7 separate regions of the Homo sapiens genome follow, and all the other regions are linked to region 1. The links are contacts of gene promoters, found by promoter capture Hi-C in blood cells and fetal thymus (Javierre and others, 2016). All regions are on one chromosome and are shown on one strand. Each heading gives the region's core, a stretch centred on a gene start or on the middle of the fragment in contact. The rest is flanking DNA. Distances are from core to core; before and after follow the strand shown.

Region 1 (4,234 bases), core at 1,070-3,569:
CCTCCCACCTCAGCCTCCCTCGTAGCTAGGACCACAGGTGTACGCCACCACGCCCAGTTAATTTTTTAATTTTTTGTAGAGACAGGGTCTCGCCAGTTGCCCAGACTGGTCTAAACTCCACCTACCTCTGCCTCCCAAGTGCTGGGATTATAGGCATGAGCCACTGTGCCCAGCCTGATGATTATTTTCAACAGGCCTTGTGTTTCCTAAGCCCCAAAAGCCTTCCCATTTCTCATTCCACTGCCATTTGAGACCCATGGCCACCTGATTGAAACCTCAAGGTTTTGCTAAGAATTTATGAAGAGAGTTAAGAAATCTCTTCAAATTGTTCCTATGAGGAAGTTATTTCATACTATGAGCAAATTCATTTTCATTAAGTATCTGTTGTAACCAAACGTTGTTTCTTAGCTTCTTAGCTCTGTAATATGGCACAATAATCTGACTTACTGAAGCCACTCATTATTTCCCATTGGCTTAATTCTTTCTTTCTTTTTTTTTTTTTTTAGAGATAGAATCTCTCTATGTTGGCCATGCTGGTCTTGAACTCTTGGCCTCAAGAAATTTTCCCACCTCGGCCTCATAGACTCTTTCTATGTTGGCCATGCTGGTCTTGAACTCCTGGACTCAAGGGATCCTCCTACCTTGGCCTCCCAAAGCTCTCACGTACCAGCACCCATTGGCTTAATTATTTCAGTAAAATCAGGCAAGGAGGAACCCTACAAAATAAACACAGGCATTCTCAAAGCAGATATAAGTGAAAACTCAGAGTATACTGTGGTCAGCTGTGTTCTCTATCACAAGTAGTTTGTCAACTTAAAATAAAGTACTAAAGTTTGGGAATGATCTACTCTAAAAATACATCGGACAATGGTCAATGTCATTTACAACATTCACCTCCTTTCTGATACACATCTCAGGAAAAAAAAAAAAAAAACTACTAAGTACCAGGTCAGAAATTTGGCACAACCCTAGATGACCACCTTGTCATGCAAATAAACTTAGAATGGTGCTCCTGAAAGTCAGCCACAGTGCTTCAAAAACACATGATTTTTTAAAACACCAAACTAAGCATACCACATAGTATAGAGACCAGGCTATGGAGTTGAGACCACCTGGGTTAGAATTCCATTTCTTTCCATTTAGTTGCTGTCACCTTCCTAATTTCTCTGTGTTCCATAATTCCATATTATCCATAAAATTCAGATATGAACACTTACTATACAGAGTTGTTATGAGGATTGGACAATGTATGCATCCCACAAGTAGATCAATTACAAGTACATTTTGCCCCAAGTAAAGACAACACGTGGGAACGCTGTGCAAGAGGGAACAGCAAAAGCAGTTGGAGGATGGAAGTCAGTTTGCAAACCTATGCGCACAGGCAGCCAAACACGAAAACGTTCCCCACAAGTAGTCTGTAAATTGGAGACTCCATTGGGATACACACACACACACACACACACGCCCTGAGAGGAAATAGCACCTTTCTTCATCACCAAGTTAGCCTTAAAAATTATTTACCCGTTGTTAGCCACACTAGCACTGACAAACCCAACTTTACTCTTGTAGGTCATTCTCCACAACGTCTGTGCTGCGTCAATCCCAAATCTGACTCCCTGACGCTTAACAGCGAAAATAAAAAACCGAGACATTACTCAATAGAGTTAACCCTTACTTAACAAAACGCTGTTGTCCCCTGTGGCGTGCAGACAGTAGAGACAGTAATTCCCGACCTTATGCTTGTCAGTGACGGCATGCCCTTTGTATACACGCTTCAGTAGAGAACGACTGCAGTAAGTAAACTGCTAGTAGCAACACTGTTCCCCTATCTAAACTTCCCCTTTCCAGAGTTACTGATGTCCCAACATGGGTCGGTCGCTCAGTCTCCGTCAAGCCCGTACCCCATAGCTTGGGCATTTCCCCCCGCAGATCACAAGATGCAAAGGGGAAGTTACTACCAAACCGACGAGAATGGCCCAGAGCTGGGGGCTGCCAGGCGGTTCCTGGGCCCCTCTCAGCACCAGAAGAAGGCGGGCGCAGGCTCGCCGCGGGTCGGCCGCACGCCATACCTGGATCAGGCCCTGCTGGAACAAGGCGCTGTGCACGCAGCCAGGGACCGCCCCGGGCAGCTCCAGCGAGCCGTTCCCATTGCAGATGCTCCAGTTGCCACGCAAGCTGTAACTGAGCTCCGCGGCGGTGGTGCCTGCACCGCACAGCGCGAGCAGCAGGAGCAGGTGGAGGCGCATCTTGAGATCCCGCGCCACCGAGATGTGGAGAGATCGAAAGGCAGCGCTGCAAGGGACCGGCGGTGAAGCCACTCACCCCCTCGGAAGTAGCCGAGGCTTTAGGTCCCCGCCCCGGCCCCGCCCCTAGGTCAGCTGAGCGCTCTCCGGGCGCAGCCGCGGGCGGGAGGGGAACGAGGAGGCTGCGCCTGCACCCGCTGAAAGCCGGGCGTCGCGGGTGCGGGAGCTGCAGCCCCCGAGAATAGCTACAGGCTGGGGGGCATTGCGGTCTGAGCCTTCCCTCGGCGCTTCTTCCCGCCGCCTCAGTACATACAACTGGAGGCAAGAATCTTGCACGGTAATTGGGACAGAAAGATCCCTGGGCGCGCAGTGGCACAAAGCCTCGGGAGATCAGAGACCGACTGTACGTGGAGACCATAGCTGGAGAGTCCCCTCACTCCTTCAGAGAACCCAAACTGGGAGACAACCCACCACTTCCCTTCCGCCAAATTTACACAGACCCTCGTCTACCTGGTAGCGTAACACTCACCCCGCTGCAGCTCAACTCGCGGGTCTCAGAGCCTACCCCGCCCTTCAAAGAGTAAACAAGTACTAGCAGTATCTCCATCAGAAGGTTGTTCTGAGGGCTAACCAAGAAAATGCGACTATAGCATGCAGCATGGAGCCTGGCCCAGAGAAGGCATTCACGTTAGCTATTGTTACTAGCGGCCTGCGTCCTTATGTTTCATAAAGCCCCACGGAGGTTTCTGAGGTTCTGGAACCTGCACTAGGCGCGCAGCTGAGTTTAAAATCCTCTGCACTCACTAGCTGTGGGACCTGGGCAAGCCGCAAAATCTCCATCTCCGTTTCTTGAAGTTTTCAAGGTGTTATAAGTATAAAATGAGTAAACATATGTGATCGTCCCTAACAATGCCAGAGTACCCAAGAAATACCACTGACTTATTTCGGGTCTTGTAGTCAAATGGTCTACCTGAGTCCCATTTTTGCAATAGGATGTAACAGTAATCCTAGAAGTTAAGACGGAATTTTACATTGCATAAAATAGACTGCCTTTCTCCTGTGTTGACGCTATCTGCCGTATATTTATGCTTCGGAAGAAGTCCTTGAAAAGAAATTTTCTCTCATCAAATCTGAGCTTTGTTTCGCCTTACAATGGCCTTGGAATTGCCTGATTCTGCAGACACCGGGCAATATCTTACTTTGCAAAGTCAGCATTATTTACAAGCCCTGAATATCTTGGCTTAAAGGACAGTATGGATTATCCAACCCAAGCCGCTGGCTTTACAGATGAGGGAACTGAGTTCAAAGAGATCGGGGCCAGGCGCGGTGGCTCACGTCTGTAATCCCAGCACTTCTGGGAGGCCGAGGCGGGTGGATCACTTGAGGTCAGGAGTTCGAGGCCAGCCTGGCCAACATGGTGAAACCCTGTCTCTATTAAAAATACAAAAATTAGCTGGGCGCGTGGTGGCACGTGCCTGTAGTCGCAGGTGCTCGGGAAACTGAGGCAGGAGAACCGCTTGAACCCAGGAAGCAGAGGTTGCAGTAAGCCGAGATGGCACTACTGCACTCCAGCCTGGGCTATAGAGAAAGACTCTAAAAAAAAAAAAAAAAAAAAGATCAGGTGACTTGCCTGTCACATAGTGGCAGACAGGATTAGAACCCTCCTCTTCAAGGTCCTACTGTCAGAGCCCAATGATGCTATAGGGGAAACGCTCTCACTGCTTCAAAGCCTTCCTCACTCACTCCAGAAGCATTTTTACCTTTGATAGAAACAAAGCTCTCAATTCAAATTATATGCCATAATTCACGGCATTAAATGGCTAGCCATGGTCTGTGCAACACTGATAACACAAGGTTTATGGCAACAAGAGCGGCAAAGGAATTTTTTCATAATTCCCAGAGATTTCATTAAGCCAAATCAGAGGAAAATTCATCCTTGATGATACATATGGATATATTCTGTTTATTAAGAAATATAATTTTTAGAAAAA
Region 2 (4,234 bases), core at 1,049-3,548, 410 kb after region 1:
AAAACAAATAAACGGAATTACAACTAAAGGCAAAGGAAATCATCAATAAAGAGACAATATTTGCAAAATATTTGCAATATTTGCAGAAATATTTGCAAAATATTTGCAATATTTGCAGAAATATTTGCAAAATATACATCTGACACATGGTTAATATCCAAAATATATAAGAAACTAAAACAACTCAATAGCAAAAAAACCCCCAAACAACCCAATTAAAATATAGGCAGAAGACCTGAACAGACGTTTCTCAAAAGAAGACATACACATAATATGTTCAATATTACTAATAATCAAGGAAATGCAAATCAAAACCACAGTGAGGTATTGCCTCATCCCAATTAGAATGGCTTATCAAGAAGGCAGAAGAGAACTTGTTGGCAAGGATGTGGACAAAAGAGAATCCTTTTATACTGTTGGTAGGAATATATAGAAAACAGTATGACGGTTCCTCAACAAAGCAAAAATAGAACTACCATAAGATCCAGCAGTCCTACTACTGGGCATGTACCCAAAGGAACTTAAATGAGTATGTTCAAGAAATATCTGCATTCCCATATTTACTGCAGCACTTTCCACAACAGCCAAGATATGGAACCAACCTAAGAGTCTACCAACAGAAGAATGGATAAAGAAAATTTGGTATAAAGTCACAATGGAATATTCTTCAGCTATTTAAAAAAAAAAAAAGAAATCCTACCATTTGCAACAATATGGATGAACCCAAAGGACATTATAAACCAGGAACAGAAAGACAAATACTGCATGATCTCACTCACATGCAGAATCTTAAAAAGCTGATCTCTTAGAAGTACAAAGTATAATGGTGGTTATTGGAGGCTGGGGTGTTTTTCAGGGAGAAGAAAATGGGGAAATCTTGGTCAGATGACATAATGACAGTTAGATAGCAGGAATAAATTTCAACAGCTCTATTGTACAGCAAGGTGACTATAGTTAATGACAATTTATTGTATTCTTAAAAAACATAAAATTTGTGGATACTATGTGCTATCACCACAAAAACAATAACTATGTGAGGTAGTACATTTGTTAGCTAGATTTAACCATTCCACAATGTATATATACTTCAAAACATCATACATCATGTTGTATACAATAAACACATAAAATGTTATCTGTACATTTAAAAAAAATTAAAAAAGCTTACATTATAGAAAAAAGAGAATACTTCTTTTAAAAGTATGCTTTTAGTTTAGTTTTACATTTCTGTCTCTCTTACCTCTTGATCTTTTTTAGTTTTTCTTTCTAGAGCCTCAAATTCATCCAAATCATTCTTTTCTTTTAATTTCAATTCCATTTCTTCTTTTTCTGTTCGTAGTTGTTCATAGTCTAATACCAGATTATCATAGTCAGCACGAAGTGAGTTCAACTCACTTTCTATATTCTCCTATTATAAACAAGAACAGATTTTCCAATCAGAAAATTCAAATATTTTTTGTTTCCTTAATAAAATTTGAATTATTTAAATAACTACTTTAACTTTGATTTGATATCTTTCTAAAGTTCTACATTTTGGCAAACTAGCTAACTTAGAATAGATTATTTTGAAAGAAGGAGAATTTTAAAAATATATCAATAAAGTGTATGTTTGCCTGTGCCTGACAGGGAATTTTGACCATAAGTCCTCAAGCTCCTCAGTAATAAAACTGATAATTGAATTCCCCAATCTAACTAACTCTTATTTTATGTCTCAGATGGTTCTGAATTCAAGAATGGAAACAGAGATATTATTTATTGACTTCTAAAGCTAATGACAACTGTGTTTTACTATAAAGAGGCCTATTTCTATTTTCTATATTATTATAAGAGAAGAGATAAACCATGAGTTAAAAAAATACTTTTTTACACCAGAGATTGTAAAAAAAACCCAAGAAACTTCTAATGTATGTATTAGGAACAAAAAAACACTTTATCAATAATACTTTATAGGAATTAACTAACAATAATAAGTAGTAATGCAATTATATTCTAAAATTCAAATGAAAATGTCTATTACTTTATACAACTATACATCTTTAAACACGAGCAATCTACAAAGTAAACACGGAATCTAAACTTACTGATGTATTCACCAAAATTACCTCTCCCTGATATATTATTCTATACATTATAAATGCCTGAGAATTGACACTTTTAAAATCAGTCTTGTTACCCTAATGAAGTTTACCAAGGCAAAACAGAAACTTTACAAACATTGTGAATACTAAGATCTGCTAGTAAAGAGCTAGAGGCAAAGGTTTACCTACTAGCACATGTCTGCCTTATGAAATTTTTAGCCTTCCTCTAGGTGCCTGATGGTTATAGAGTAGAAATGTAAAGAGAAAAGCCTTCATTAGAGCCAAAATCATTACTGAAATTAAATGAGAACAAGTAACAAAACCTAATAACAAAAGAATTTTAAAAAGAGTAAAAGCATTATATGCTGTAAAATACATTAAGTTACCTGATTTAGTAGCTTTGTTGCTGGATTCCATTCTATCTCACTTAATGTATCAAGAGTGTTACTGAAAACATCAGACTCTGAACAGACAGCTATAATTAGAGAAAAAAAAAATTTGTCCATGAACATGTTTACCAAATTTCCTAAGTCAAATTAAAGATTACTAAAAAAATTCTTATCAGAGATACTAAGAACTTCAAATTAACTACTATGTGCTCAGAGTATGAATACCAAAAGTACATTAATAGATATGGTCATTTATGTTATTGTATGAATTAAGATGATCACTGGTTGGAATTAGTGACACAATACAGGATCCTTAATGAAATATAGGTTAAAAGGACAAATTCTGAATTTGAGATTTGATCATTATAAGTAGATTTAAAATTCCCCCCCAACAGACTGTACTATTGAAGAAATAATTTTGAAACAGATTCCTATGTCAATGCCACTCTTTTAAGATTAGCAAAGGCAGATGCCATATAACTAACAATTTAATTGAATAATAATTAGAAAATAAAAACACCTGTCTCATGTGTGTTTCAACTAGTGCATCATTCTTAGGAGATTCAGAATAAAGAACTTATGATTACTTTCTATTTATTTATTTATTTATATTTGTTTGAGACAGAGTTTCACTCTTGTCACCCAGGCTGGAGTGCAACGGGTCTTGGCTCACTGCAAGCTCCGCCTCCCAGGTTCAAGCGATTCTCCTGCCTCAGCCTCCCAAGTAGCCGGGATTACAGGCGCCTGCAACCACGCACAGCTAGTTTTTTTGTATTTTTAGAATTACTTATTTTAAATCATAGTCTCCATTGTAATCACATATGAAATACACAGTATTTAAACATGTTTATCACATTAACTGAGCTATAAACATAGTTTCTCTTTATAAGGATGCTTTTATAATTAAACATAGTTCCACTTGAAAAAAGCACTCACATTCATCAATTTCTCGTAATAAATTTATAGAAAGCTTATGTGTTTTTGTTGTTATATTTGTTGGTATATTAAATTGATCTGCATAGTTTGAGTTCTTCATTTTGTTAATTTTGCCAAGGCACCAAGTAACTCTTCGTTTTCTTTTAGCCTAAAGAAGAAGAAATCAAAATTATGTCATATAGATCTGTATTCAAACATAATAAAACAAGGGAACTAGTTTCTATTTTTGAAAACCATTGACTTGGTAGAATTCTTATTAAGCCTAGTTTAAAATTTTATTAGTCTAAGGATATTGCTTAAAAAAAAAATCAAACTCTTGACTCTTTACTTCACTCTAACTACCATTTTCTTTTTTTCCTACTTTGTCCTCCTCATCATTTATCCACTCCTTCCTCAACACTTCAGGGACCCATCTCCTGGTTCTTACCTTACCCAGCTGCTGTCCTTACCACTCACTCTGCTTTGCTAGTTTCTCTTCCTGTGCCTGCCTCTTAAGTGTGTTTCTCCAGGTTTCATAGCCACCATTCTTCTCTTGACTCTTTACTGGGTGCAAGTATCATCTCATCTTATTTGACTCTCTCGGCAACCCTAGGGTTGTAATCACATCTGAAATACACAACCCTAAGGTTGTTGAGAGAATCAAATAAGATGAGATGATACTTGTATCGAGTATCAACCTTACTACATCTTTTTAACAGATGAGTTGGGTGCCCAACAAGTTTGGAGAAGTTGCATAAGGTTGTATAGCCAATTGGTGGCTGAGCCCATTGTCTATTACTTCAGAGCCTATCCATGCAACCATTCCGTCACATTGCCTCTTAAGATTACTTG
Region 3 (4,234 bases), core at 1,103-3,602, 370 kb before region 1:
GGTATGAAAAACACTCCTGCAGTTAGCTCAGTGTCTTCCCAAACAGCCACCCCAGTTTTGTGATTGAAACCCAGGTCCCTGGTGGTGTAGGCACACGAGGGAGTCTCCTGATCTGCGGATTGCAAAAACCATGGGAAAAGCTTAGTATCCAGGCTGGATAGCACAGTCCCTCACAGCTTCCCTTGGGTAGGGGAGGGAGGTCCCCAGCACTTTGCACTTCCTGGGTGAGGTGATGCCACACCCTGCTTCTGCTCACCCTCCTTGGGCTGTACCCACTGCCTAACCAGTCCCAGTGAGATGAACTGGGTACTTCAGTTGGAAATGCAGAAATCACCCCCCTTCTGTGTTGGTCTCACTAGGAGCTGCAGACTACAGCTGTTCCTATTTGGTCATCTTGCCACATCCCCGAGTATAATCTTAAAATAAGGAAAATTCCTTTAACTGTAATAATCTTGGACCTATTTACAAACTTACTCCATTTTGTGATTTTTCTCATTTTACCATGTTCTTATGAACATATCATCTGACACCTATATCACACTGGCTGGGAATCACAGGTCTATGACCCAGTGTTTTGCCTCATGACAGTTTGCATGGAGAGGGCTGTGCTGAAAAAGTCAGGACCCTTCAGCCTTGTTTTCCAAAGGATGGAGAGTCAGTTTCCCAAAGTCAGCCCTTCTGGGCCCTCAGAGCAGTTGGCTGGTTGCATGCTTCCTATTGTTGTTCTTCATCATTTATCATGGGTGTGGAGTCATGTGAAATGTGCAAATGCTAACTCAATGTAGACAGCGAATTAGTCTTCCACAGTGACCATTTGATATGCTTATTTCCTTGAAATTCTTATACCTGTTCCTATGACACAGAACTATGAGCATATGTTCACAGACCAGATTCTCCTAGTAATACCTTTAGAGTATGGTTCACTGAGAAATCAATGACATGATAATGGAGTTCTGTCAGAGGAGGCAGGTGATGTTACTCACCAGAAATCCCAAATAGGTACTCACTGCTCCTCAACAAGTAAAGGCTCAGAACTTCCAGATCCAGTACTGTGGTCCACTGCCTCTTCTACAGATGCTCTTCTCTGCCCCAGGCCCACAGTATCTCAAGGTTACTGTGGCTTAGATAGCATTTACCTTTATATCTGAAAGAGAGTAGAGAATGAGGGGACATTTGTGTTGAGGTCCAGGAATCAGACCCATCTGGGTGTTATGGGTTATTTTATGATTACTGGAAACAAAAAAGATTTCCTTGGCACACAATATTCAGGGGGAATTCCTGATTCCTCCATCCAGCTAAATTCTCTTTCCATCGAACTAAAGCAAGTGGGGACTCCTGGAATAATGCAAGGCTTTGATGGCAAAGTCCCTGAACACGGGGAGGGGAGTCACACACATCCCTCTCTTCCTCTCAATTTCAGGACAAGGAAGGATAAGTCCACATTCTTCCTATCAAACTCTCACTAGAGATTAGAAATAGAGACTTTGAACTGTGCCTTGGGCATCTCCTCAGGCACTGGAGCAGATGTAGCTCTGAGAAGAAAACAGCATGGCCGCATCCTTTTATCCAGCTCCTGCTCTATAAATTGGCAAAGGGAACTCATCTTTTATTCTAGTTCTATATAATTTACTCCAAATTAAGGAGGAATTCTTAATTATAAATGTTAAGCAGAAGTTGCAAATATGTAAGTTTAATGCCTCTGTTTAAGAGAGGCATTAATAAGAGAAGATTGATCTTTCTTCTAAGGGTACTGGTCTTTCAAGAGAAAAGTAATCTTACACAATTGATAGAAGAGGTTAGTGCTATGATAAAATTTAATACATCCATTGTGCACCATTGAAATTATTTGACTTCACTCACTGACTGCTGTTTCTGCTAAATTGATATCTTAGATCTAAGAGTGATTTGCCATATTCTAGATAGGACTAAGCGGCCTGGTGCAAAATAACCCTGAAGTGTTCACGACTGACCCCTCAGCCCAGACAAAATCATGGAGATGCAGACCACACACCAAATTGAAGCTGAAAACGTGAGATACCTGGGATTATCACAGCCATCCAGAGAGCATCCTTCTCCATACACATAAATTAAGGCATGTGCCCTATGCCCTTTCTCCAATATGATTTTCCTCTAATCCTTGGAACCACTAGAAGAACACTAACTGCCTGACTCTCCTATTCTCCTGACAATACCACAGATGAATTAGGAACCCATTTTCCTAATTCTCTGTGTGTTGGTTTGTTTGGACAGTTACTCTAGTGAAATCGAGTCTTCACAACAAAAGATAGAGGACCCAGACTAAGCAACTTGCCTAAACCTGAGGACTAGAGTCACTTTTATCATGGCTCATTGACATGATACATTGACATATAACGCTCTCCTGAGACAGTTACACTCCCACCTTCTCCCTCTATTCCTATTCCTGGTTATTCCAAACCTCTCCTTCTCCTGTTCTTCACCTTCCAGATGTACTGGTTAGCATCTTCTCCTCATGGCTGAGAAACAATGGCTTACTATCCTGTTTGCCAATCCTTGTTCCACCTTCCTTCAAGTCTTTCTTCCTCATTCAGAGAATGAATATTATTGCTTCTCAGTTTTTTGGCTAAGATTAAGTGAGAATGAATGAGTGAATATTAATTTTATCTTGTGATTAAGTGAGAATGAATGAGTGAATATTAATTTTGTCTTGTACTTATTGTAGTAACTTCTATATAAAATTTTAAAGAGGACAACATTTCTGTCTCAACACCGTCTTGCCTTTCGCAACCTTTCAGACAAACATCTCAGGCTTCCATATTTTCCCTATTGTCTGCTCTAACGTAACATGATTTCCAGGAAAGATAATAAATTGCTCACTGTAAGGTAAAAGGTTGCAAAGTTTATGCCTTTCCAAAGAGATTTGCTTTAACACAGGACCAAAATTTCAATTTCCAATTCTGGAAATGCAAAATCAGTAAGAAATCTTGGAGAAGGACAATTTTCTGGTATCCTTTAAATTATACCCCTACAAACATTGTGTTCAAATAACAACTCACTCATGGTTCATAAAATCATTTTCATGGATTAATATCAGTTTATTTTTTAATAGAATGGAAGGAAACAAATATCAATGTACATCAATTAGAGTAAGCGTAAACTTTTTTTTAGAATTTTCATTTCCGTTTTTTATAAATGTACAACATATATATGTATATGTAATTATAAGCAAAATATATAAATGCATTTCTTGTTATGATCATCATCAAAAAGTTTGAAAGTTACCTGCCCCTCACCCCTAGATCATGTTACCAAATGCTTTTGATTCCTCTTGTGCAACTTCACTAACATGCATCCCTGCTTTTCCATCCCCATCACTGTCCACATAGGTCAGATTATTCATTTCCGTTCTGAAGTTCTACAATAATCACAAAGCCTACATAACTGCTGTCTCTTACATTTTTCTGGGTGTTTACAGTCTCTAAGTCAAATTATTTCCTAATTCAAACTCTGAAATCTGTGCAAGACAAAAATCTGAATTCCTGTGCCTAGCCCTCAACCATCTGGCCCATTTTTACCTTGCCAAACCTTATCTCCTGCAGTTACCCAACTTGCCTCCAGGCATTCTTCTCTTTTCTGCACCAGATCTCTGCTCAAACCATCCTCCTCCCACTCTTTAGCTTGAAATGGCTCCCTTGCCTCATCTTCACGGCATCTTATCAGTCCCTGAATCCTTCAAGTCTCAGCCCCCTTCCCATGTCCTTCATCCCCCAGTGAATGCATTCACTGACCACCCCATACTTCTGAGAAAGCCTTAAATCTTATTATTTTTAACCTTTTCACTGGTGCACATTATTGGTGTACTCATATTTTCTGTTACTTTCTACATTCTTATCTTACCTTTCCAAGGAGATTTTAAGTTCCTTAAAAGAAAATATATCTTAAGTTTTTCTAGCTTGTTGCACTTAGAGCAAAGGTCCTCCATAAAAATGTTTTGATTGATTTTTCCTACTGTACACATGATGCTAAGGTCACTGTGACCCAATAGTTGAAAAATTGGCCATTAATTTTAAAAATACATACTATTGTGCTTATTTTTTATTTTCCATCTTATTTCGTTTTCTAAACTAATAGTTATTATCCTTAAATCACTTCTGAGCAATTAATTTTAACTTTTTAACCAACTGTACTACTACTACTAATAATAATAATACTCATTTTTCTTTCTTCAACCCTCTCTGCAGGAAGTTTTAATGTG
Region 4 (4,234 bases), core at 967-3,466, 350 kb after region 1:
CTTATATATATTATAATATATATTATATATAATATATAACTTATATATAATATATAATATATAAGTAATATATATTTTATATTACTTATATATTACTCATGTAAGTAATAAAGAAGTAATAGATATATTACTTATATATTATACACTTATACTATATATACTTATATATTTATTATGTATACTTATATATGTATAATAAGTGTATATATACTTATAAGTGTATATATACTTATAATAAGTATATATATAAGCATACATATATGCTTATAAGTTAGAAGGTCAGGTGCTAACCCCACGATTTCATATAGCCATTGAGATCTGCATCTTAGTTCAGTACTTGTTCTACTGCGTAAAGCTATCTCAAGTACTGTTCAAGCATTCTTTCTTTTCAAATGGAACATGACAGACAGAATATGAATAAAGGTAGTTTGAGGAATGCATGTATATTGAGAAATTTGACCAACAGATCTAAAAAGTATCTCAGATAAATTTCAAAGACCTTTGCAAGTAAATATTAACTTGGTATTTTTAGTTTCAAGAACAAACAGAATAGTATTTATTTTTACTGTACACCAATTATAACTTATTAGATGCATACAATTAAAATCTACGAAGACATGTGTTTCGTTTTATTGGGAAGCATAATTCCATGTTGATATAGTATAAGTCATTCCTTTATTGCCTGAAGGTATCTTCACTAATAGGTAAAGATTTGACAATACAAAAGCAGAGTTCGTATTTTTCAAGAATCTATAATGGATAAGCATCTAAGATTACAACAAACGATGTCACAAGATATCTGGAAATATGGTTCCAATAAATTCATTTAAAAATAGATTAGTGGCCAACTTCTGTTTACTCTCGACTGTCACATACTACATAATATTAGTCTTCAAAGTCTGTTGTGTGTTGAGAAGTAAAATTTCATCTGAAAATATCTGCATTTTCTACTTACCTGAGGTATCTTGGGCCTGTTGACTTCTTCTGAGATTTTCTCTCAATAGCCTTATAACTTCCTTTTGATATTCTACAGTGGCTTTTGTAGCACTGATTCTAACAAAAACAATAAAAATATGTAAAAAGCTCAGCAACTGATTTTTTACAGGAGAATAAACAGAACTGCTGTGAAGGATTTTCTAACACATCACATTGACATAATGCCTGTAAGTGGCAGTAGATAAGCCCTCGTGATACCTCTCTGGTGCCATGTGCCTTATGGCATTAATGCCATCAAACTAGAAGCATTCTGCTTGGGTGCAGGGACAGTCCGATTTTCTTATATTGAGAAACCCCAGTTCTTTTAAAGCTTCTGGAGGCCTAATTCATTGTATATTGAACAAAATTATAATTACCTAATTATTTTTTACCATGGGGTCCTAGAAATATTTGAAGGTATAAGGAGCATGAAAGAGAAAGTGCAGCTTTATTTCTGTATGGTCAGGAAAGCAAACCCTGACTGCAGCTCTGGTCTAAGGTGCTACAAAGGTCAAATTCTGATCACTGTTCTCCAGTAGAAAGAGACATTTTATGAGTTGTTAGTTTACGCATTAATCAGTAACGATAAATTATAAGACTTTCTGCCTTTCTTAATGACTATGAATTATCTGTATCTGCTGACCCTATTCTTTACTTTTCTTTTCTTTTTTTTTTTGAGACGAAGTCTTGGTCTTGTCCCCCAGGCTGGAGTGCAATGGCGCTATCTCAGCTCACTGCAACCTCTGCCTCCTGAGCTCAAGCGATTCTCCTGCCTCAGCCTCCTGAGTAGCTGGGATTACAGGCACCTGCCACCACGCCTGGCTAATTTTTGTACTTTTAGTAGAGACGGGGTTTCACCATGTTGGCCAGACTGGTCTCAAATTCCTGACCTCAGGTGATCTGCCTGCCTCAGCCTCCCAAAGTGCTGGGATCACAGGCGTGAGCCACCGTGCCCGGCCCTGCTGACCCTATTCTACAAGTAAAATTGTTTTTATAATTAAGAATCTAATAGATCTATGTTTCACTGAAACCAATAGACTGCTTAGAGAGCATGAAAATTCCAATGCTACTTCCTGGGCAAAATAAGAGATCATTAAATATTTATTCAAGATTTATATAGGAAGAATGAAAAGTGTTAAAAGCCAGGAAGCATCCTAACAAATCCTCTAAATAAACCTTTCCTTATTGATTATGAATGCGAGGACCAGAGAGAATAAACAGTGTAAGGTGATGCATTAGTAAGTGAGAACATATTTCTTTTTTTTTTTTTTTTTGAGATGGAGTCTCACTCTGTCGCCCAGGCTGGAGTGCAGTGGTGCGATCTCGGCTCACTGCAAGCTCCGCCTCCCGGGTTCACACCATTCTCCTGCCTCAGCCTCCCAAGTAGCTGGGACTACAGGCGCCTGCCACCATGCCGGCTAATTTTTTTGGTATTTTTAGTAGAGGCGGGGTTTCACCGTGTTAGCCAGGATGGTCTCTATCTCCTGACCTCGTGATTTGCCCGTGTAGCCCTCCCAAAGTGCTGGGATTGAGAACGTATTTCTACTTCAGTTTCCTTGACTCTCTTTAATGTTCTTTTCATTATGCTATACCACAAAGAATTTAGGCATGCTGTTATGTATAATGCTACCTATAAATAAATCAATAAAAAGAGGATTTGCTCTTGGGCCCTAGGGAACTATAAACTAAAAGGAAATATAATCTTCACACAGAAACACAGTAAGGCCAACAAATGAAATTAAGAGAACCAACAGAAGCCTTAGTAAAACTGCTAAATACACACACACACACACACACACACACTCTTAATGTTCACTTTCAGGCATACAAAAGCCACTTAAAATTGTTTATATTCTGTATGACTAAGAAGTGTTCAAAGACACAGCGTGTTAATTGATCAGAATTGTGTTTAGTTTTAAAAACTTTGCATATGTAATGAGACCAGTATATTTAAAATCTATGGATGTGTACATTTTTAAAAAAAGAGCTGTAACAATATTTTCATAAATTATATTTTAAAAAGTTAACTAATGAAAAGTATATGTAGTTTAGGAAGAAAATTTAAGCTATTAAAATCACATTAAATTAAGACAAATACGTACTCCTTTTCAAATTCTTTGGCATTTTTCATTTTCTCTAGGTCTATTTTCACAAGCTTCATTTTGAGATCTTCAATTTCTTCTTTATATGGCTTAGCTCCTAAAGCAACTTTGTCCTAAATTTTTTTTAGAGAAAATAAAAATAATTATTAGAGGCGCTTCAGTTTCTCCAGTTGTAAAGAATGGTTAGCTGTCTTTGCTCTAATAAGGACATTTTAAAATAGCAAACAATTCCAAATATATGAAAAAGCATCAATTTTAACTGAATAACTAGATATTGATATGAAGTCTATTTGAAGCTAATATGCAATTAGAAACATGATTTTTTATTTGGAGCTATCATAATATGCAATTAGAAACATGATTTTTATTTCTTAAAATAAATATTTTTTTTCTAATTGAAAATACCTACAAAATGAAAAAAGTTGGAAATAATGAAAAGGGTGGAAAAAGGTAAATCAGAAAATGAAACAAAAAGATGTTGGAGCAGTGATGTAAACATCAAACTAGAACTAAATTTAAGCCACAAAACAAAGCATTACTAAGTATATTTTGTACTGAAACAGTTCCATCCAGTGATTCAAAACACTATATTTTACAGCAGCAGGTTTCCAGAAAAATGGAATGGAAAATACTGGGAGTTCCTACATACCCAGTGTCCCCTATTCCTTTTTCCCCATATTAACATCATGCATTAGTATGCTGCATTTGTTATAAGTGATGAATATTGATACATTATTATTAAAATCTATAATTTCCATGACAGTTTATTTGTATTGTACATTCTGTGGGTTTTGACAAATGTAAAATGGCACATGTCCATCATTACAGTATCATACAGAATAGTTTCACTGTCCTAAAAAACCCCGTGCTTTGCCTATTCATCCCTCTCTTCTCCATTATCCCTGGCAACTGTTTATTTTTTTACTGTCTCTGTAGTTTTGTCTTTCTAAAAATGTCATATACTTGAAATCATACAGTATGTAGCCTTTCCAGATTGGCTTCTTTCACTAACCAATGTGTATTAAAAGTCCACTCATTTTCTTTCCTTTTTTTTTTTTTTTTTTTTTTTAAGACAGAGTTTTGCTCTGTCACCTAGGCTGGGGTGCAGTGGTGCGATCTCGGCTCACTGCAACCTTCGCCTCCCGGGTTCAAGCGAT
Region 5 (4,234 bases), core at 632-3,131, 330 kb before region 1:
AAGGTTTAATTGGTTTATATCAAACAACTCCAAACAGCATGTCAGTCATTTTTATTAGTAAGGGGCACATTTCACAAGTAATTTTCTCTAGAGGGTTCACTGAGAAGCTTTCAAACTCAGACATTTCTCAGATGGATTTCTGAGATTTTTCTCGGGGTAATTCTGCTTTGAAAATCTTCCAGGCTAAAATTGCCAAAGCCACGGTCTACAGTGTAGACCTTTGGAACTTTGTTGATTGATCTGCCCCTATCCTGGAGCAGACCCAGAATTGTATTCTGAGAAAAATCTATTAACTGTCTATAGTGCTCCTAGGCCTTCTCCATGCAGAGGTAGGCCAATGTCTATTCAAGACAAAGTCTAGCTTAGGCACCTTAATTTTCATAAGGGGACATTAACCTTTTTCTCTTTGCTCAATTGATCTCTAAAATACATACTTTTTGAAGTATATTAGCTTTATAATACATGTGCTTCAATCATAACACCAAATAATTGCTCTAAGGCATTTTTCAGATAATAAAATACCTGACAGTCACTACCCAGCTTTTATCAAAAGACGTAAGAAATAATATTCATAGAGAATCCATAATTAATTCATAATTCAAGGAGATAAAGTCTACCCAGCCCAACAAATAGTTTAGATTTTTATCCCTGGATCAATCCAGGCATGCGATGTGGCTGAAGTATAAGTTACGGGAAGGGAGAGGCTGGAGAAGGTTGTAAAGAGACAGCCAGGCTTGGGATTATATTTCAAAGGCCTTATAGCCCATTTATTCAGTCACCATGAAATGCTGTGTCATCAAAGGATTTCAGATAGGTAGGACGCTGTTACATAAGACCAGGTAAAAGGTGATTAGTATCTTAGCAGAAACAGTTATAATTTGAATTTAAATTCAATAGGACTGAAAATTGGTTGAATGTAGGAGACAAAGGAAAACAGTCAAGATGACTCCCGTAGCATGGGCCCTGAATGGAGAATACAGAAGAAACAGGTTGGGGCAAGAAGTTAATAAGCTCAGTGTTAAAAATGCTGAGTTTGATACCCCATAGAGTATCCCCAGAAATGACTTACTGAGTTATTCATGAATCTGAAGCTTGGAGGATATGGGCTGGTGATACAGGTTTGAGAATCATCAGCAAATAAAAGACAATTAAAACTATAACAGCTACCTACCTGCTATGTCTCCTAGGCCAAGTCACCTCTCTATGCCTCCATTTTCTGATTTGTAAAGTGAAGATTATCATACCTAATTGAGGGTTACTTAAGAAAATTACTATACTTTTGCTTAGTATGCTCTTGATATATGTCAGTTGTTTAAAAAACTAAATTAATTGCCAAGATTGCCTTGCAAGACCACATAGAACAATGGTTATTACACTTTTGGAGAGAAATTAATGCTTTTGAGAATAGCTGTAAACTATGGACTTTCTTATTAGAAAATTACACATAATCAAAGACCCAAATTTTTGCACAGAATTTCAGGAGGCCTGTGGATCACTAAAGAACCTGGGTTTAAAATTTTTTGATGTACAAGGGGAAGAGGGAAAATCTGAGAATCAAACAGGAAAAAAAAAATTATGAAATGAGCAGATTAGGAGAAGACCAAGAAGAGATTATCAGAAAGCGGCAAACATCAAACAGTTTCAAGAAGAGGCTGTGACCAATTTTCCCAAATTTGGCAAGTAGGGCCAATAAGATGAGTTAAAATGATCATTGGCAACATTCACGAATTGTATTAGTCTAGTGATGGGAGAGAAAATTAGAGATCAGTCAGTTAAGGAGTGAAAAGGGAGTGGAAAAGCAGTGGCAACTCATGGACAAAAAGGAAGAAAAAAGATGGAATGAAAGACAAAAGAGAATTTGTGGTCAAGAAAGGGCTGACTTTCTGTTTGCTGTGTTTGTTTTGTTTTGTGGTCATGAGAATTTATTTTTTGTTGTTTTGGGGTATTTCGTTTGTTCATTTTTTAAGGATGAGAAAGATTTGGGGTGTATGGACTCAGGATTGGAGCCAACAGAAGGGCTAAGGTGGAAGATAAGAACAGAGTGGGAATGACTGATGAAGCAACATTCCAGGAATGGAGATGGGGAGGAAAGAAATGGAATCAAGGGCTCCAGGAGAGGGCTTGGCTTTGTGCTAGAAGGACACATCATCCTCCAAATATGTGGAAAGGAGTTAAGAAAGTGTCTATATATTAGTAAGTGCTGGGCAGGGTGGACAATTGATGGATGACTGTAACTTTCTCAAGTAAGAAACAAGGTGGTTTTTGGGAGCCTGAGGCAGGAGAATCGCTTGAACCCGGAAGGCGGAGGTTGCAGTTAGCCAAGATCGCGTCACTGCACTGCAGCCTGGCGACACAGCGAGACTCCATCTCAAAAAAAAAAAAAAAAAAGAAAAAAAAGCAGATTAACAAGGTGGTTTACTGAGAACATTGGCAGTTAAATGTTGAGGAAATGATGAAGATTTGGAATAGAAGCCAAAGAGGATGATAAAGAAAGCTAAGCAAAACAAGTAAACTTGTATTACTCTGGATTAAGCTCTTGGAACTCATTTCTCATAAGTTTTTAAAATCTTGATAACCACTGATGAGAGAATACACCAAATAAGTATTTTGGCAATTAGTCTTCCTATTTCACTAGCAATTGTGTTTAGATAAAAATCATTATAATTACATCTTAAGCTTCTTGTAATACATTAGACTTACAAAACTGCAAACACTATACTAGATATTATGTATGTATATATTATATTATATTATATAGATCATATACATTATGTGATACTAAATGCCAAAATTTTACTTGATGTTTTGAAGTGCTTAGTGTTGTTCAATGCTTACTTTAGCCAGCTGTTATGTTTTCAGACAGTGATTTGCTTTAGTCTTCTCTTCCTTGCAGAATCATAAGGAACCTTAGCTTATGAGAGCAGTTTCTTCAAGAATCTGCTTATTAGAGTAAATAGAATGAATTTCATTTCGTACAGTTACTACTACAACATTTGATGATACCAAAAGCAAAGTGAAACCTGAAGCATGCTCACATAATAAATTACAAAATTTTCCATATGAAGCATTCTTTATTTTCTGAACCCAAAGCTCTGTGTCCCTTTGTAATGAATCAGCATCTCAGGCAAATGTTCTTGTGAGGAGGCAAATTTTTCCCACTGGATTTAGCACTTAAAACAGAAGTTGTCCCCACCACCACCACACTTTCTAAATACAAAGAGCCCTGTTATAAGATAGTCTCATCTGAGTTGTTTTTCTTTTTTCTTTTAGATTATGTGGGAAATGTGTTGCATATTTGCATTTAGTATTTGTGCAAATGTTTTAAACCTTTTTCTCCGTGTTGAAGCTGGTTTCGGTTATAGTTATCCGAATAAGGGGGGGAAAGAGGTGAAAGGACAATATAGTTTAAAGTATTTAAAGCCCTAAAACTTCACAAACCAGGAATTAAATATAAAGGTATTCGAGTTTTTTCTGACTTATGAAAATTTAAAGAGCAGTACCGGCCGGGCGCGGTGGCTCACTCCTGTAATCCCAACGCTTTGGGAGGCCGAGGCGGGCGGATCACGAGGTCAGGAGATGGAGACCATCCTGGCTAACACGGTGAAACCCCGTCTCTACTAAAACTACAAAAAAATTAGCCGGGCGTGGTAGCGGGCGCCTGTAGTCCTAGCTACTCCGGACGCTGAGGGAGGCTGAGGCGGGAGAATGGCGTGAACCCGGGAGGCGGAGCTTGCAGTGAGCTGAGATCGCGCCACTGCACTCCAGCCTGGGCGAGAGAGATTCCGCCTCAAAAAAAAAAAAAAAAAAAAAAAAGAGCAGTACCAAAAATATGTAAGGTTTTCTTAGAAAATATAAAGTGCTAACCTAAAAAGGAAAATAATGTATTTGCCACATTTAACAAACACTTATGGACCAAGATAAAACAGATAGCCCATAAATTTGGCGTTGTCCCTTTAATGTACATGTCTATAGTGCCACCATGTGGTACTACCGGTGTTGTAAATATTTCTAAATACAGTAATTCAGATATTCTGAAAGTTAGACACTAGATGGCAGTATATTTCCCTTTAAAATTGTTTATTCATGTTCAAAGGCAGTATCTATTTTTTATGGTATAACTTTGTTGAAAAGTAAAAAAAATTACTACAGTTTTTAAAATAATATGCTTTGTAACATAGACTGATTGCATTAAAAAGTATGCTTTTAATCATCATTTATTTCTCAAATAGAAGCA
Region 6 (4,234 bases), core at 1,084-3,583, 330 kb after region 1:
CCCCTATCCTTCCCCTGCCAGAGACTGGGTTGCTGGTACCTATACAGTAATCAGAATTTTGTCTGAGTGAGGGGTGGAGAAGAGCAAGTGTTCTGGAATAAGAGACTGTTTCTATTTGTGAGCTTCCCCTTTATGTCATTTCCATTATTTATTAGAAATGACTCTGTTAGTCAAGGGTATCCAGTCAAATACATGTATTTCTGGACTAAACTGCAAGGAGAAGAAATGAGAGGGTCAGAAGAAGGGATGACACCCTTGAAGGCTAGACATGAGAGATCTGGCATGGCGGGCACCTGAGAGATACACACTGCACTAGTTGCTGAGAAACTCCAAACAGTGTCTAACAAAAGCAGCAGTCATCATTATAAATATATACACATATTATTTATAATGTGCATAATATATATTATAACATATAGTAATATAATTTATAATATATACAATGTATTAATATGTATACATATAATATATAATAATATATGAATAATACATATAATATATAGTAATATAATTTATAATATATACAATGTATTAATATGTATATGTATAATATATAATAATATATGTATAATACATATAATATATAATTATCTATAATGTGTATTATATTTTATAATTTATAATATATTATAAATAATATGTATATGGTTTATTTTGGGGGAATATAGAAATAAAAGATTCATAAAGAAAGGGAAGACTTGAAATTTTGTTTCAGAAACATTTCCTTATCTTTGTGCTTCCCCAGTGCAGCAGCTTTACTTTGACTTGTTTGAATTATAATTCAACATATTCCAATTCAATTAACTAATTCAAGGAACTAATTGCTGTTTGATTATGTAACCTGTTCTATTTTGCTGTAAGGGTTACCTTTCATATAGGTTCTCTGTTCTGATTTCTTTGGGTAAACTGCAATTAAAATCCTTTGGTGTTGGAGTTTGGTTCAGTGGGGTGAAGAAGTGGTGGTACACACCTAATAATCTGGGTACTCTCTTAGGGTTTCTCATGATGATGTGTGATTTTAGAGCTAAGCTGTCTCCAGCCACATGTGGCTACTGAGCACCTGAAATGCAGCTAGTCTGAAATGAAATGTGCTGCAAGTGTAAAATACACATGAATTTTAAAGATTTAGTATGAAAATATTGAGACGTTGGTCAAAGGGTACACTCTTGCAGTTATAAGACTTAATATACAGTACAGTGACTATAGTTATTAATAATGTATTGTATACTTGAAATTTGCTAAGAGGGTAGATCCTAGGTATTCTTAGCACACACATACATACACACAGAGGTAACTAAATGAGGTAATGGATATGTTAATTAGCTTGACTGTGATAATCATTTCACAAGGTATTTTACAACATATATGAAAACATCATGTTGAACATCTTGAATATATGCAATTTTTATTTCTCAATTATACCTCAAAGAAGAGAAAATTAAGAGAAAAGCTGCAAAGAGGAGAAAATTAATGTTTGAAGTTTGTAAGAAACTTCTAATAATTTAAATAAAAAATTTAGTAAGAAAAAATTAAAATATTAATTTTTTAACTTGAGTGCATGTTGAGATTATATTTTAGATATATTGGATAAAAGAAAATATATTATTAAATTAATTTTCACTTGATTCTTTTTACTTTTTTAATGTGGATACTAGAAAATTTAAAATTACACAGGCAGCTCACAACATGTTACTATTGGACAGGGCTATCCTAGAGGAGGAGGGCACAGAAGTGAAAAGCTGTCATGAAAAGTTAACCTAACAACTAGTAAATTTTCACATGTAAGTTTGTAATTAGGAACTGAATCCCTCAAATGTGTTAGCTAAATAAAGGATTTTAAGTATTCGTCCTCAAATTTTTCTATGCATGTAAGTCACAGATTTTTGTCTATAGGTTCACAAAATATAGATTTCATATCAGAGAGAGAATCTAAAAAGCACGGCAGTGGAGCTCAGTAGCTAGGGAATTTTCTTTCAACATGTGAGCGCCATGCTTTATAATACCTTGCAGACACTGAATCCCAAATTCAAGCTGCTGAGTTGCTTACCCGGGTACTTTTCCAGTTCCTGAAGTTTGGACTCATTAATGTCTGTGGCTATGACTTTGGCACCTTCTCTTGCAAAAGCCTAGTAGACACAAAGTACAAATAAATCCTTTGTTTACTTGAATAAACTGTGCTCATGAATGGAACATCATGTGGTCTTTTTCTCCTTTATCTTATTTTCATTGTTCTTTTCCCTATAAGATAGCTAGAATTTTAAACTATCTAGTCTTACCCCTTCTCCATTGTTATTATTTTTATCATTAATTAGAACAATGTGACATACATTGTGCTTGTCATCTGACTTAGTCCCTTTAAGTAATATCAAACAAAATAACGTTCTTAAAAAAATGACAGCTGTTTTCAATACTCTCAAAATACTGCTCTTCTGTAATGAGACTATATATCATTTCTGAGTTTGAGTTACTAAACTCCAAATAATAAGAGAAAAATTGGTTGTTTCAACACTTTTCCTACTAAGAGTATGCTAGTGCTTTCATAAATGTCAAACCATACCCTGCCATTATACTTAAGGTACTGTTATACTTAAGGTGCCGATATTAGCTTAAGTGGGGTACATAATGTAACAGAAATTGATATAAATCAGGAGAACAAGGTAACCTGTCTTATAACTCTGGAGTCATATATCTAAACTGACACAATTTCAGAAAGCTGTGTAACCCTGTTTGCCCTCTGTAGCGAATATATCATGATGCAGAGAAACTGAAGTAGAGAAGTTTCTCAGAGTCAATGGTTATCAGTGATGTCATGTACTAAATATGAGGTATTCATTCCTTCATCTGCCTGGGGTCAGGAGTAGGGACCTATTTATTTATTTGTTTATTTTTATAACTTAAGACAACAGAAGCACAAAAGTAAAAAAATAAAAAAGCAGAGCAGAAGTAAACAACCATGGCATCAGTCCACATAATTCAATATGTCAAGAGTTAGTAGGCAAACAACAAAGATAGTAACTTATAACTTACTAAGGCAGCTGCTTGGCCAATCCCCTGAGCAGCGGCCGTCAGGATGATGACTTTCCCATCAAGTCGACCCATAATGGAACCTGTGGTTTAATCTAAAGACATGTGTGTTTAATGGGTTATACTGTAGAACATGATCTTGAGCAGGCAGTAACATCTAGAATGAATAGTTCAGTGTGCTCTTTTAAGAATAATTTAGTGAGCTCCTTCAGGAACTTGAAGACAGCACCTCTGTGCAAGTAGTCCCATCATCTGAATTCTCCTAGAATGCTTACTCTGCATACCTAGCTTTGTATATCAAACACATTTACCATAACCCACTGAAGTAATGACTGGTGACAGACATTGGCCATTTTTTTTTTTTTTTTTTTTTTTTATGAGATGGAGTTTCACTCTTGTCACCCAGGCTGGAGTGTAATGGAGTGATCTCGGCTCACTGCAACCTCCGCCTTTTAGGTTCAAGCAATTCTCCTGCCGCAGCCTCCTGAGTAGCTGGGATTACAGGTGCCTGCCACCACGCCCAGCCAATTTCTGTATTTTTTGTAGAGACGGGCTTTCACCATGTTGGCCAGACTGGTCTCAAACTCCTGACCTCAGGCAATCCACCTGCCTCAGCCTTCCAAAGTGCTGAGATTACAGGCCTGAGCCACTGTGCCCAGCCCAGATATTGCACTTTAACCTACCTTATCCTTCCTTCAGTACCTGGAGAGGACAGCCTCTGGTGCTGAGTTTCCTCACTACCACCATCACTCTCTCCATGACCCCTGCACACATTGCTATGACATTATTTGTGTCCTTACTACTCAGGGCTGCTTCTTGATTTCTCTTCCATAAACTTTTGTTGAGGTTTGCACTATCAATTGCTTATGATTTTTTTTCTCTTGAAAAGATTTCATAGTTGGTCTCAGATATTCATCGAAAAAAAAAAGGATGGAAAAATCAAATCACATCCAATACTCCCATTTTACAGATGAGGAAACTGCTGAAACATGCCCAATGTCATAGAGCCAGTCAATGGGAAAGCCAGAACTAAACTTAGACTTCCAGACTCTTGCTATGTGAACAGTCCAGCCCACAATGCTGCCGATCCTCTTATAAAGTTTAAGCATGCAGTAGTAACACATTAACAGGCATAATCAGTAATTTCTAAATGATTGAGAAACACTGACACCGGGGCTCATGTGCATGAGATATTTCACCAGTGCTTGGA
Region 7 (4,234 bases), core at 550-3,049, 300 kb after region 1:
TTCTTTATATATATAAATGTCTTATATTCTGTTTTCTGATAATGTACATTTTTGAAATCTGTTTTTTTGTTTCCTTTTGCATGTTTTTTTTGTTTGTTTTTTTTTTTTTTTTAGTTTTTTTGCAATAGTGAGCTCTCCCTTGGAACTTTGTCTAGTTTGTTTTTTGCAATAGTGAGCTCTCCCTTGGAACTTTGTCTAAAACTAAACTTTTTAGTTTGTCTTTTGCAACAGTGAGCTCTCCCTTGGAACTTTGTCTAACTTTGTTGAAGCCTTAGGTTGAATGAGTTTTCCCAGATGGGAATGAATTTACTTCTACCATGTACTTAAAAGCTTCCCATCCAAGACCATCTGAAAATGTTTTTTGAAAATAGATACATTTTCAAATTGAATTTTTTCTGTGAAATTGGAGACAAATCAGGATGAAGTTAAACATTTTTATTGGCGACTCCACACCTGCCCCAGCCAGCAACTACAGTTGAGACAGGTTTAGTCAGAGGCCCCATCTGCAGAACAGATTTACCTCAAATTTGGCATCACACTGGGTTTCAACTTTATATGGGTGAAGGAGAATGCTTTTTCCTGTTAGACTTCTCCCAACCTGGGCAGGCTCTAGCTTAGCCTCCTGTGCTCACAGCGCTCTCAAAATCAATCTCAAATTCCCTGAGGTGGATCTAGAACTAGAAATACCATTTGACCCAGCCATCCCATTACTGGTATATACCCAAAAGATTATAAAACATGCTGCTATAAAGACACATGCACACGTACGTTTATTGAGGCACTATTCACAATAGCAAAGACTTGGAACCAAGCCAAATGTCCAACAATGATAGACTGGATTAAGAAAATGTGGCACATACACACCATGGAATACTATGCAGTCATAAAAAATGATGAGTTCATGTCCTTTGTAGGGACGTGGATGAAGCTGGAAACCATCATTCTCAGCAAACTATTGCAAGGACAAAAAACCAAACACCGCATATTCTCACTCATAGGTGGGAATTGAACAATGAGAACACATGGACACAGGAAGGGGAATATCACACACCGGGGCCTGTTGTGGGGTGGGGGTAGGAGGGAGGGATAGCAATAGGAGATATACCTAATGTTAAATGACGAGTTAATGGGTGCTGCACACCAACATGGCACATGTATACATATGTATCAAACCTGGACGTCGTGCACATGTACCCTAAAACTTAAAGTATAATAATAATTAAAAAAAAAGTTCCCTGAGGTTTGGTAGAAACCTCCAGGGTGGGGCCACCTTGAGTGCTTACTGACCTCTGCTACTTACACTTTGGTTTTGGTGTCTGATGATTCCCTGTTTTCTTGACAGATCATTTCAAAAGACTTAAAACATTTTTTCAGATGATGTCCTTGGTTTGTGACAAGATTGTTCATTGAGTCTCATCTACCATACTGCTAGAGACTGAATTCAATGTCCCTTTTTCTAAACCCTCACAGAATTGTTCCAGATTTTCTAGGCTTATGATACTACTGCAGTGGAATACCTAAGGGACTTCCAGTATTTTCCAATTAGCTACAAGGGTTGAAATTTCTATGCGATATCAGAGGTAGAATGGGAAAGCAGGATTTGCCAGCTATTATACTAAATTATACTTTATCATAGCATAAACCCAAGCTAATATTAAATTCAGCAAGGTAGAATTAAGTGTTTTCTCTTTTCGGCTGGGCGCAGTGGCTCACGCCTGTAATCCCAGCGCTTTGGGAGACGCCGAGGCAGGCGGATCATGAGGTCAGAAGTTCGAGACCAGCCTGACCAACATGGTGAAACCCCGTCTCTACTAAATACAAAAATTAGCCGGGCATGGTGGCACGTGCCTGTAATCCCAGCTATTCAGGAGGCTGAGGAAGGAGAATTGCTTGAACCCAGGAGGTGGAGCTTGCAGTGAGCCGAGATCGAGCCATTGCACTCCAGCCTGGGCAACAGAGTGAGACTCCATCTCAAAAAAAAAAAAAGAGAGATTTTTCTACTTCAAGACTATTAAAAAAATCTCTCTTTCCCTGTGCTTTACTTGAAACACAGTTGTAAATACATAGCAAATGGTATGTCTATAAGGTTTCTCTAAATCATGTTTAAATCAGTTAACAATTTACTTCTCATTTACGATTATGGAAAACCACAAATTTTCACATGTAAGATTTACTTTTTTTATTTTTATTTTTTGAGACAGTTTCACTCTTGTCACCCAGGCTGCAGTGCAATGGCACGATCTCAACCTCCGCCTCCCAGGTTCAAGTGATTCTCCTGTCTCAGCCTCCTAAGTAGCTGCAATTACAGGCACCCACCACCATGCATGGCTAATTTTTTGTATTTTTAGTGGAGATGAGGTTTCACTATGTTAGCCAGGCTGGTCTTGAACTCCTGACCTCGTCATCCACCTGCCTTGGCCTCCTAAAGTGCTGGGATTACAGGTTTGAGCCACTGTGCCCAGCCTACTTTTTAAGAAGAATACTGATATATACTGCATAGGCACAGGAAAAAATATAGGACAAAAGTCGTCTTGTAAACCTCTGGAACAGAAGAACAGAAAAATAAGCGATGAGATGTTTATCTACCATGAACCTCATTTTTCAGGCTGCTTTATGAACGATTATACATTTTTAAAAAATGTGTCCCAAAATTACATTATTCATTTTTACTCTTTCCTTATGTCAGTCCATATCTGTTTCATTGTAAACGTTTTAACTATAAGTAGGCCATATTTTGAATAATAAAAGTTTAAAAAAATAATGAAAAGAACAGAAAAGGTATTCAATTATCTGTGATCTTATCAGCTAGTGTATATTTTTGGATTCTGGTTTTCTGTACATGTTCTAAGTTTGAGATTTTCTTCCATGCTTAGTTAAGTAAACTGACTTGGTTTCATTAAAAACACATCTAGAGCCTAAAGTATAGTATATTATGCTTATCTTTCATTGTCCCAGATGATAATGGTAAACATGTCTTTCAGAGCCCACAAAGTATAACTATGGAATTGAGTCTCATTTTTCAGTAAACATATGTGGGCATCCATATATTTACTTCAATGATGCTATTATTCTTGAACACAATTTTTGAAATTGCCTTTAAATTTTCTTTAAAAGGCAAATTTAGTAAGACATAAAATTATGAAACTATTAGAAAAAAAACATAAATAAAAAGCTCCATGACACTGGTCTGAGCAATAACTTTTTGGATATGACTCCAAAAATATAGGCAACAAAAGCAAGAACAGACAAACCAGATTACACCAAACTAAAAAGCTTTTGCACAGTAAACAATCCACGGAGTGAAGAGACAACCTACAGAATGGGAGAGAGCAGTTGCAAACTATGTACCTGGCAAGGAGTTAATGTCCAGAATATAAAAGGAACTCAAAAAACTCAATAGCAGGAAAACAAATAATCCAATTTAAAATGGGCAAAGACCTGAATTTTTCAAAAGAAGACATACAAATGGCCAAACAGGTATAGGAAAAAATGTTCAACATTTCACCTCATGCCTGTCAGGATGGCTATTATCAAAAAGACAAAAGATAACAAGGGGTTGGCAAGGATGTAGAGAAAAGGTAACTCTGTGCACTATTGGTGGGAATGTAAATTAATACCACTATTATGGAAAATGGTATGGAGAGTCCTCAAAAAAGTAAAAATGGTACTACCATATGATCCTGCAATCCCATTACTGGGTATGTATCCAAAGGAAATGAAATCGGTATGTTGAAGAGATTTCTGCACTCCCATGTTTATTGCAGTACTATTCACAATAGCCAAGATATGGAATCAACCCTAAGTGTCCAACAATGAATGACTGGATGAAGAAAATATGTGTATATACACAATGATATGCTTTTCAGCCATAAAAAAGAATGAAATCCTGTCATTTGCAACAACATGGATGAACCTGGAGGACATTATGCTAAGTGAAGTAAGCCAGGCACAGAGAGACAAATACTGCATGTTCTCACTCATATGTAGAATCTAAAACAGTTGTTCATATGGAAATAGTAAATAGAATGGTGATTACCAGGGACTGGGGAGGGGAGGAGCTTGGGGTTATGGGGAGAGAGTGGTCAACAGGTACAAAGTGATAATTAGATAGGAAGAGTAGTTTGTTCTGTACCACAGCAACGTGACTATAGTCAGGAATAAGGTATTGTATACCTCAAAACAGAAGATTTTCTATGTTCTCACCATGAAGAAACGATAAATGCTTCATGTGTTA

What was found. The method cuts DNA at HindIII sites, captures the fragments that hold promoters and counts their contacts. A CHiCAGO score of 5 or more calls a contact.
Region 2: a fragment that was not itself captured here is called in contact with the fragment with the promoter of MANBA in region 1 in 1 of 17 cell types (neutrophils); the score reaches 6.0 in neutrophils.
Region 3: a fragment that was not itself captured here is called in contact with the fragment with the promoter of MANBA in region 1 in 1 of 17 cell types (total CD4 T cells); the score reaches 5.5 in total CD4 T cells.
Region 4: a fragment that was not itself captured here is called in contact with the fragment with the promoter of MANBA in region 1 in 1 of 17 cell types (monocytes); the score reaches 6.9 in monocytes.
Region 5: a contact is called between a fragment that was not itself captured here and the fragment with the promoter of MANBA in region 1, in 1 of 17 cell types (total CD4 T cells). The highest score is 6.7, in total CD4 T cells.
Region 6: a fragment that was not itself captured here is called in contact with the fragment with the promoter of MANBA in region 1 in 5 of 17 cell types (neutrophils, M0 macrophages, monocytes and 2 more); the score reaches 7.2 in neutrophils.
Region 7: a contact is called between a fragment that was not itself captured here and the fragment with the promoter of MANBA in region 1, in 2 of 17 cell types (M2 macrophages and neutrophils). The highest score is 7.0, in M2 macrophages.

What each region holds. Positions count from the first base shown.
Region 1 is chr4:102,758,649-102,762,882 of GRCh38, forward strand. It overlaps MANBA (mannosidase beta), which reads right to left and starts at 2,320. Exons shown (of 17, transcript NM_005908.4): 1 at 2,070-2,320. The coding sequence starts at 2,246. RefSeq lists an enhancer at 1,915-2,264 and a silencer at 2,355-2,484. The HindIII fragment of the contact is 23,862 bases long and covers 1-4,234 here.
Region 2 is chr4:103,173,496-103,177,729 of GRCh38, forward strand. CENPE (centromere protein E) reads right to left here. Exons shown (of 49, transcript NM_001813.3): 14 at 3,404-3,551; 15 at 2,465-2,553; 16 at 1,241-1,408. Among named protein-coding and RNA genes, the nearest start is that of CENPE, 23 kb to the right of the region's middle. The HindIII fragment of the contact is 2,274 bases long and covers 1,162-3,435 here.
Region 3 is chr4:102,384,367-102,388,600 of GRCh38, forward strand. No RefSeq gene overlaps it. Among named protein-coding and RNA genes, the nearest start is that of SLC39A8, 41 kb to the left of the region's middle. The HindIII fragment of the contact is 4,429 bases long and covers 139-4,234 here.
Region 4 is chr4:103,113,500-103,117,733 of GRCh38, forward strand. CENPE (centromere protein E) reads right to left here. Exons shown (of 49, transcript NM_001813.3): 45 at 3,078-3,190; 46 at 956-1,053. Among named protein-coding and RNA genes, the nearest start is that of BDH2, 16 kb to the left of the region's middle. The HindIII fragment of the contact is 1,824 bases long and covers 1,305-3,128 here.
Region 5 is chr4:102,427,562-102,431,795 of GRCh38, forward strand. All of the region lies in intron 2 of NFKB1-AS1 (NFKB1 antisense RNA 1), which reads right to left. Among named protein-coding and RNA genes, the nearest start is that of NFKB1, 72 kb to the right of the region's middle. The HindIII fragment of the contact is 1,585 bases long and covers 1,090-2,674 here.
Region 6 is chr4:103,093,156-103,097,389 of GRCh38, forward strand. BDH2 (3-hydroxybutyrate dehydrogenase 2) reads right to left here. Exons shown (of 10, transcript NM_020139.4): 2 at 3,028-3,119; 3 at 2,048-2,126. The coding sequence starts at 3,099. Among named protein-coding and RNA genes, the nearest start is that of BDH2, 4.6 kb to the right of the region's middle. The HindIII fragment of the contact is 6,924 bases long and covers 1-4,234 here.
Region 7 is chr4:103,060,446-103,064,679 of GRCh38, forward strand. All of the region lies in intron 3 of SLC9B2 (solute carrier family 9 member B2), which reads right to left. Among named protein-coding and RNA genes, the nearest start is that of SLC9B2, 14 kb to the right of the region's middle. The HindIII fragment of the contact is 2,943 bases long and covers 329-3,271 here.